Linked DNA regions of Homo sapiens: region 1 is linked to region 2. The links are contacts of gene promoters, found by promoter capture Hi-C in human tissues and cell types (Jung and others, 2019). All regions are on one chromosome and are shown on one strand. Each heading gives the region's core, a stretch centred on a gene start or on the middle of the fragment in contact. The rest is flanking DNA. Distances are from core to core; before and after follow the strand shown.

Region 1 (4,334 bases), core at 886-3,385, 170 kb after region 2:
GAAGTATGCACGTCCTTCAGGGTCACTGGGGAGTCTAAGCAAAATGCCATCCAACCAGTAGTGGCTGCCAAGAGTTATCCACACTTTTGCCATCCAGTAGAATATGAAACAAAGCTAGAGTAAGCAACTTCCTGTGGCCCTTCTGCTGCTCTCACAAAGTGGCTTTCTTAGATGATAGCCTTTGTCATGGGTAAACCTTACTTACTGTGGAGAGGAGACAAGTGATCTGCAAGTAGCATCAGGCTGAAATTCATCCTGGTTCCATCAAGATTTTTCAAAGTCAGAAGTTAAAATGCGGATGGACCTACTTGAAACTTTCTTAGCTGAAATATGGAGGATAAAATGTGGATGACACAAGCAGGCAAGATCTGGGAGGATTCTCATGCATCTCAACATCAATGGAACCACATTTGAAAACCGTATGAAAACCCAAGTACTAGACTGAGTTACTCACAAACAATGGGGCAAGTAAAGTTTTACAGGGGTTAGGGAGAGTGGTGAGTTATAGGAATGTAGGTAGTGTAGGGAGAAGAGAAATAGACTCAGAAGAGCATCTATTAACCCTGCTAACATAAACTTTGCTGATAATGAGCTTAAAGATACTCGAGATGATGTCTTCCCTGCCATGATTCAGTCTGGCTTCTCTAGGCAGTGCACATACATTGGTGTAGGTGACAAGGAGTGTTACACGAGAATACACAGCCACTTTGTAGTGCTGGCCAGCCAGATGAAAATGAGCTCTTGGTAATGCAGTATTGCTGTTGGGAATATCCCTGTTTCTGTCCTTGTGTGTGTATCTACATATAGTTAGATATCAACATAGACACATACACACAAATACACACACACTCACAAAAGACTTGGTGGCAGTACACGGAGATTTTCATGATGCTTAAGAAAAGTGGGCAGAACACACATACAATTTCCTTTTCCTGGGGTGCATATATGTCAGTGGCAGGGTGCCTGAGGTGCTAGGCCTGCTCTGCCCCTGTGGGTGAACTTGGGTGGTCTGTCTGAGGTGAAGGGCTTAGGTTGTGGGCTGGTGACCTATCTCAGCCTGTGCAGCTGACTAACAAGCAATTGTCTTCTAATCAAGTATTGAACTGCATCCAGGTATGTGGAAGGCTAGTCTACTTCCCCTCCAGGATTCAAGGCTCAAACAAGTTTCTCTTTGCTTTCTATGATGCATAAAAAGATTAAAAAAGAAATTCTGAAAGCTTGCTGGCACCTTCATCTGGAAGGAAGTACAGTAGGTCCTTAGAAAGATACTCACCTCTCTGTGCCCTCTGTGAGGGGTGTGAGCCCTGAGTCTGCAGGGGAGCAATGTGGTAAACAAAGGAGGAATTTTGGCAGTGAGAGTGCCAGTGACTGGAGGGAGTATATATGTCTTGCTCCCTCTGCCAGAAATTCCAGAACTTCCTTCCTCTAGTTCTGTGGCTGCAAAAATGAAAGCCAGAATAATGGGGCAGGAGGTGGATGTGGGGCTAAGGGATGGGACACTATTCATCTCCTTGCTTTGAGTATTAGCAGAAGAAAGTTGGGCACAACAACTGGGACTCCCTGGATGCTGGTTTTCATTAGAGCTACAGAAGATGTTTTACTTTGCGTCCTCTTTTAACTTGCAATCTGGCATATTCTAGCTCTGGATGTGTAAAATAACCTGGGGTAAATCAGTCTTAAGCAAAAATCTCCAAATGAATGACTTGTATTAGGGGCTTGCTGTTCTCTTTTATTTATTTTAATTTTTCAAATGCTTGTTACTCTGTCTGGTGCCACCCCAGTTTTTAGGATGACTAATGATTTCATGCAGCCAGGGATCCCTCCTCAGAGAGGTTGAAAACATCAGATTAAAAACAACCACAGCTATTTATAGGATGTGAAGATAGCTGAGTTTCTTGATAAAATCCAGAAGCATTTGCATTTTAAAAATGGAGACCTCATTGCTGAGAAATCCAGAGGAACAGACCTTTAAAAACAGATTGTTGGGTATTTTTATGTCTGGGCAAGGGAGATATTTTGGGGCAAGGAAAGCTTCTTAAATTATACCATTCTGGAATGCTGCCTTTATCTACTTGTAAGGTTAGTCCTAGTCATGGATAGGATGTATCCAGATGAATGGCATTGTTCGCTAGCAAAATGAGGCCATCAAAAGTGCCTGTGATTTTCCCACGGTCAGATGAAAGTTACTCTTAATCATTTAATTTTGCTTCTCATTTTATCAGCAGCCTCTAGAATGCTTTCCAGGGTTATTAAAATGATGATTAATTAAAACACAGGTAAGAGTTAATGAAATTTGAAAGGTGCTTGGGCATCATTGAGGCAGATGGTTCTAGGTACGGAGATTCTGAATGTAAGTCATCATCATTCCATCATCATCTTGATCACCACCATCACCATTGATAATAAACGTTAGCATTTAAATGGTACCTCTTTCCAGAGATTTCAGCATCTGACAGAAAATTTCCTTGTTCTCACAACATCCTGTTAATGACAGAAGGTGGTTGTGGTTTAAAAAATCGTGATGATTATCACCCACTAGGTCCTGGCTGTCTAGTCATGCTGGTGCGTGTTCTCTCTCCTTGACTTTGCTGTCCTTCTAGAGCTGTGTAGCAACAGTTCAGTGAATGGGCAGAACCTTGTCACCCTGACTCTGTGAAGAGCAGAGCTCTCTGTCCTCGTCAGTTGCCATTCACACTCATCTTGGGGGAACATTACACCTAATTCGTCTCAACTCATGCTGTTCATCTGTTGCCTCATTCCTTTTTCTCAGCAATTTGTCTTTTTCCCTTTCTTTCTCCCATCTTTCCTAGCATTCTACTGCCTCCCCTATCTCCATTCTCTATTCTCTTTCTATTTTCATTGGCCAGTTCATGTCTGTATTGTGCCTTAGTTTTCCCTGTCTTGGAAGCTTATACAAGATAAACTAGAGATGTAGAGATACGTGTGGGGAAACAGGTCTCTTTGACTTTCTTTTCTTTTCTTTTCTTTTTTTTTGAGACGGAGTCTCACTCTGTTGCCCAGGCTGCAGTGCAGTGGCGCGATCTTGGGCTCACTGCAACCTCTGCCTCCTGGGTTCAAGGAATTCTCCTGCCTCAGCCTCCTGAGTAGCTGGGATCACTGCCACGTTCCACCATACCGGCTAATTTTTGTATTTTTAGTAGAGACAGGGTTTCGCCATATTGGTCAGGCTGGTCTTGAACTCCTGACCTCGTGATCCGCCTGCCTTGGCCTCCCAGAGTGCTGGGATTACAGGCGTGAGCCACCATGCCCGGCCTGTTTGACTTTCAAGACTGGGGAATTAAGTATTTTGCTCTGTTTCTAGTGTACATGCTTTTATGTGTTGATACTTCTCAGCCTTTGGTGACTCTTAGCATGTTTTTAGTAACTTGGTTAGGTCACAGTGACTGATTTCTATTTTAGTTCAGCTCTCTTGTTCTCTGTCTATTAAAGTTCCATAGAAATTGGAGTGGGAGAGGAAATTTTGAGGGCTTCAAAGCAGAGTTTTGGCAGCATGTACATTCAAGGGAGGAGTAAGAAGGATTGTGGACTCTGCATGGTCAAGTGTGCATCCAAGCCATTGGAATAACAGACAACAGCTCACATGCATTGAGCACATGCTATCTGCTAAGCATGGTTGTAAGCACTTAATAAATAATAACTAATGTAGTTAGTAGGCATGGTCAACTCTGTATTATTAAATTACCTGTACTCTATGACTCCTTAGCTCCTGCCTTTTTGTATTTGTTTTTTTTCTCCAGTTTTCTCGGTAAAATTTCTTTTCCCTAATTTAAAATTCAGCATGCCTGAAATATGAAGACAAGGACCCATCCATACCTTGGATGAGATTGAGAAGGTCACTCCCTATAATCTGTTACAGTGGGATGGTGTTTCTGTGAAGGGCAAATTGAATTGCAACATTAAAGAATTACATTAGGCAGGAAAAGTGAGCCTTTCTCTATTTGAAATAGTCTTTCTAGTCTATAATTTTAATGTTTCTGAAGATGTTATAAAAAGAATTGTTCTTGCCTGGCACAGTAGCTGAGTCCCAGCTTCTCGGGAGTCTGAGAGGGGAGGATCACTTGAATTCAGGAGTTGGAGTCTAGCCTGGGCAACACAGTAAGACTGAGCCCCGCATCTCTAAAATAAATAAATAAATATATATATATATATATATATATATATATATATATATATATATGTATATTCTTTTGTAAAAATTGAATTTGTCCAGATGCTGATAGCCCCAGAAAAATTAGGAAGAATTGGTAAATCACTCAGGTAAAGTGATTCCTGTGGCTATGGATAGGTGGTACTGGTGGTGGGTTATAAATAAA
Region 2 (4,222 bases), core at 44-2,543:
GACGGGAAATGCGCGCTCACCTGGACAGCGCGGCTCAGCGGCACAGAATGCTGTCGCCCTGCTTGTTCACCGCGCCGGCCTGGAACAGCAACCGAACACCAAGGGAAAGGTTAGCAGGCGCAAACAACGCGCTCGACACGGTCCTGGATTGTCCTCGGAAATCAGGCTGGCGCGCCGACGCCCCCACCCCAGCCTGTAGCCGGGGGGGCCCCTCCGGGCTCAGGCGGGACTTGACAGCCCAGGGCGCCCACAGCCCCGAGTCCCGCCCTGCGCGTTCTCCCGGACCCGCGCTCGCCGAGCCCGGCCGGCTGCTGGCGGCCCGGGGGAGCCCGGAGGAGCAGGGGGAGGGGGCTGTCATTCCTGGCCCGCCCCTGCCCGGAGGACGGTGAGCGCCCGCGTCCCGCCACCACGCCACCAACCTCCCATCCCCCGCGGCGTCCGCCCACGGCCGGCGCCCGGCCTCTCACCGGGTCGGTGTTGAGCGCAGTGAGCGGGGTCCGCGGCGGCGCGGCTGGACAGGTCCCGGCCGGGTGGTGTGGCGGCGCGGGCGGTGGTGGCTGCCTCAGCAGGGCCGGGTGCGTCTCCAGCGCCAGCTGCAGGTCCAGGATGTAGTCGATAACGTGCTGCAGGATCTCCACTTTGCTGACTTTCTTGTTGGGCGGGATGGTGGGCACCAGCCTCCGCAGGCGGCTATAGCAGTCGTTCATATCGCACTGCAGGCACAGCGCCGGCTCGTCGGCCGCCGCCTCGGCCGCCTTACAGCGCGCTGCCGCCGCCGCCGCCGCCGCGGCTGCGGAGCCACCCAGGCTGTGGCCGTGCTCGGCCAGGCAGCGCAGCGCCAGCTCCCCGCCGCCGCAGCCCGACGGCGCCTTGCGGCCCGAGGGGCGCACCGGGCTCACCGCCTTCATCGCGCGCGCCCTGCGCTCTACGCGAGCGAACCCGCTGGGGCGAGCGAGGGAGGCAGGCAAGCTCCGGGCCCCGTCCGCGGCCGGCTCCGCTCCCTTTGCCTCCGCGCCCGGCGCGCTCGGGGCACCGCGACACTCCCGAGCCCAACAATTGACGGGAGGGTCGCTCTGGGTTTTACGAGGGAATCTTTGCTCAGTGGGCGACACTCAGCCCGAGCCCAAAGGAAAAAAAAAGCAAAAGCACCGGAAGAAAAGTAGCCCACCCGGGTGTCCTAGTCACTCCCTTCGGAGCTCCGACTAAGCCCGATCGCGGCCGCCGCGCTCCCCTAGCCCGGGATCACCCCACTCCCGGTACTACTCACAACCGCGCCTCCTCCACTACGCTCTCGCCCGGCCCGCCGCGCAGCTGTATTTATAGAGCCGTGCGCCCCGGGGGCGGGACCAGCGCGCGGGCCGGGTCGCAGCGCGAGCCGAGCGGAGCCCGCTGGGCGCGCGGGCGGGGGCGCGGAGGGAGAGGCGAGGGCGGGGGCTCCGGGCGGTGCTGGGGGGCGGGGAGTCCGGCTACCCGAGTGGAGGAGTGGGCGGGGGGTCTGGAGTGGCCAGCCAATCAGGCGGGCAGTGCCACCTCGGGGAATGACGCTCGGGCCAATGGGAAGGGCACTCCATTCCGTCAACGCTGTGGGTCGGGGTTCTGAGAAAAGAGAGCTGAGTGGGAGTCGGGCCAGGCTGATGTGTGCCCAAGGGAGGGGAAAAGAGAGAGCGAAGTTCCTGCGAAGAACTGCGGGAATGTGCGGCCGGAATTCACTCTCCACCGCCCCCCTTATCCCGACTAGGCTGCTGAGGGAGCGCCTGGGCCCTGCTCGCGGATACCCTGCCACTCCTAATAGCACGGCGCCCAGGGACCCTCCGCCACCCATCACTCCATCCGTGGGATTCCAGTGCCTTAAGAAAGACGCGCTGTTCAAGAAGGCACGTTCATTCTGTTCTATATTTCCCTCCTCCGTTTCATTATTCGCCTTTTCACATTTGCCGAAACCATAATGATGGAATGGAATGTGTAGCCTTTCCGTTTTCTTTTTAAAAAATGCTAAAGCTTAGCAAAAGTAGAAAAAAAAAGAAGGAAAAGAATGCCGAATCGAATGCAGGTTTTTGGTGAAGGGAATATAAATAAAACAAAAACGTGGGGGGGGTTCTTTTACCCCATCTAAATGCAAAAGTGGGCTCAAGAAATGCAGTTGCCTTGCGCATTCAATTAGAGCACGTAAAGATTAAAAATGCATGGACACGGAATATTTAAAATTCCATTATGACATATAATATTAATCTGTTTTATGTAAAATTCATACCTGTAACTTAATTTAGGCCATTAATGCACAGCTTCACGTATTAGTCAGCGTACCCCGCTTTAAATAAGGTGATGAGAATGTCCAGAGTCGCCTCCTTTGACAGCAAAGCATTAAAATTCACACTTCCAGTCTCTGGGATCCCGCTTGGGCCCCACCCTGCAAAAAAAAGCCTGTTAATTAAGGGCGTTTTTGTGTTAGATTTCTTAGAGAAAAGCTGTCCTTCAAGGGTTCAAAATAAAATTGCACAATGAGCTTTGGTGGAGCATTGTGTGTACCCTTCAAGAAAAAATTGAGCCCTTCAGATGAGAAAGGTGCATAAAAATTCTCAGACAATGGGGAAATGAATTTTGAGTGCCTTCACTCTACAAACCCTCCCACCTTTAGACACGCTTGGAGATGAATTAACCCAAGAATTTTCTTCATTCGTGTACATGACATGGATTGGTGTCTTCATTTTCATAGATAATTGAAAGAAAGAGACATGGACCTCATTTCTTCCTGTCTACCCCTATATGGACTTTTTCTACATCCATTCCCAGAACTGAAATACCTGCACCAGGCAGATATTTTGTTTAGCTATGTCAGTGCTTTATGACTATCGCACTATTCCCCAGAGCACATTCCTTTCTCCTGATGAAATGAGGAGCAACTATTTAATTCTGGTTTCACAGGTAGATGCAATAACCCTCCTCTCCCCTAATCCTTGTATGTTACTGCTTCTAATAATTGTTTGGAAACAAGTGCCATTCTCATTTATTTATGTGCATACGTAGATGGTCTACATACACATTAATCGAGAAAATCAGAATTATGAAACTCAGAAGGGCTTTCTTCTAAAGACAGGCATAGTCATATACATCATTAAATTAATGCAAATACAGAGAAAATGTTGTAATTTTAAATGGGAAGTCGGTGAAGCCAGCACTACTGGTTGTAAGCTATTATCTTGGAGCCAGTCATATGAGCACAGACGATAATAATAAATGGATATATGTACAGATGTTTTGTTCCATTGATCTTTCTCTTTCCTAGAGTTTAAAATTTGCTTCCAAATTCAAAACCCAAGACTTTCCTCTGTTTGGCAAAATAAAACTATGCTAATATGCCCAGGACACACTTACATTTAAACATTTTACATATCCTAACGATTAAAATTAAAATTTAAGTTTTGAATACGTAACACAAAGGAAGAATCATATCGACCTTTTTGGAATTTGCTAAATCTCAGAAAGCCATGCCTTGGGTGTGACAAGCGCCAAATGCCTAAGTTTCAGGTTTTGTTGGAGATGCTCTGTGTGACTGGCTTAAAGTTAGAAAGACTGAGTTACTCTGTGTGGGGTGGGGTGGAAGAGGTGGTTTCAAAGGAATGTACCTCAGCCACAAGATCAAGAATACCCAGGAAAGATGTGATCCGTAAATCCTGCTAGCAGAGTAGGCAGAGGCAGTTACTGTGCTCCTTGTTTTGAAGGTTGGAAGGCATGAAGACATTAAAAAATTAAAGTGCTACCATATACTATGGGAATAAGGAATACAATCCTGCACGTTTTGGTCCATGAAACCAGAGAGTACTAGGGGCTATGCAATGTATGTTTTTGTATTCTTAGACATAGACACTTACATGACATCAAAGCTGCAATCATGGAAGATTCCTGGCACTGATAATTCAAAACAGTTTACCCAATTATCACTCAGATTTTGGATAAACCTTACAAGCTATGTTATTTCTACTGTGCAGAGAAGGTAACTTAGTCTGTTGGTGACTCTTTTACATCAAAGTGTTTCACTTGCACTTGTAAAAGTAAAATGGGCTAACCCAAATCCTTTTGTCATGGAAATGCTCGAGACTCCCAAAATATACCTCAGTAGGAACCTAGAATGAAACATTCATAGGAGAATTGCTAGAAAGCCGTGATGACCAGAGTCATGGATACACCCTTCCTCCAGACAAAGAGGTCTGCTGTCCTCCCTGAG

Evidence for each region. Contacts are between HindIII fragments. The study calls those that stand out against the background at their distance.
Region 1: a contact is called between a fragment that was not itself captured here and the fragment with the promoter of ID4 in region 2, in 1 of the 25 tissues and cell types used here (aorta).

What each region holds. Positions count from the first base shown.
Region 1 is chr6:19,666,432-19,670,765 of GRCh38, reverse strand. No RefSeq gene overlaps it. Among named protein-coding and RNA genes, the nearest start is that of LNC-LBCS, 140 kb to the left of the region's middle. The HindIII fragment of the contact is 4,246 bases long and covers 13-4,258 here.
Region 2 is chr6:19,834,441-19,838,662 of GRCh38, reverse strand. ID4 (inhibitor of DNA binding 4) reads right to left here and starts at 1,293. Exons shown (of 3, transcript NM_001546.4): 1 at 468-1,293; 2 at 21-79. The coding sequence starts at 908. The coding sequence ends at 35. The HindIII fragment of the contact is 7,095 bases long and covers 1-4,222 here.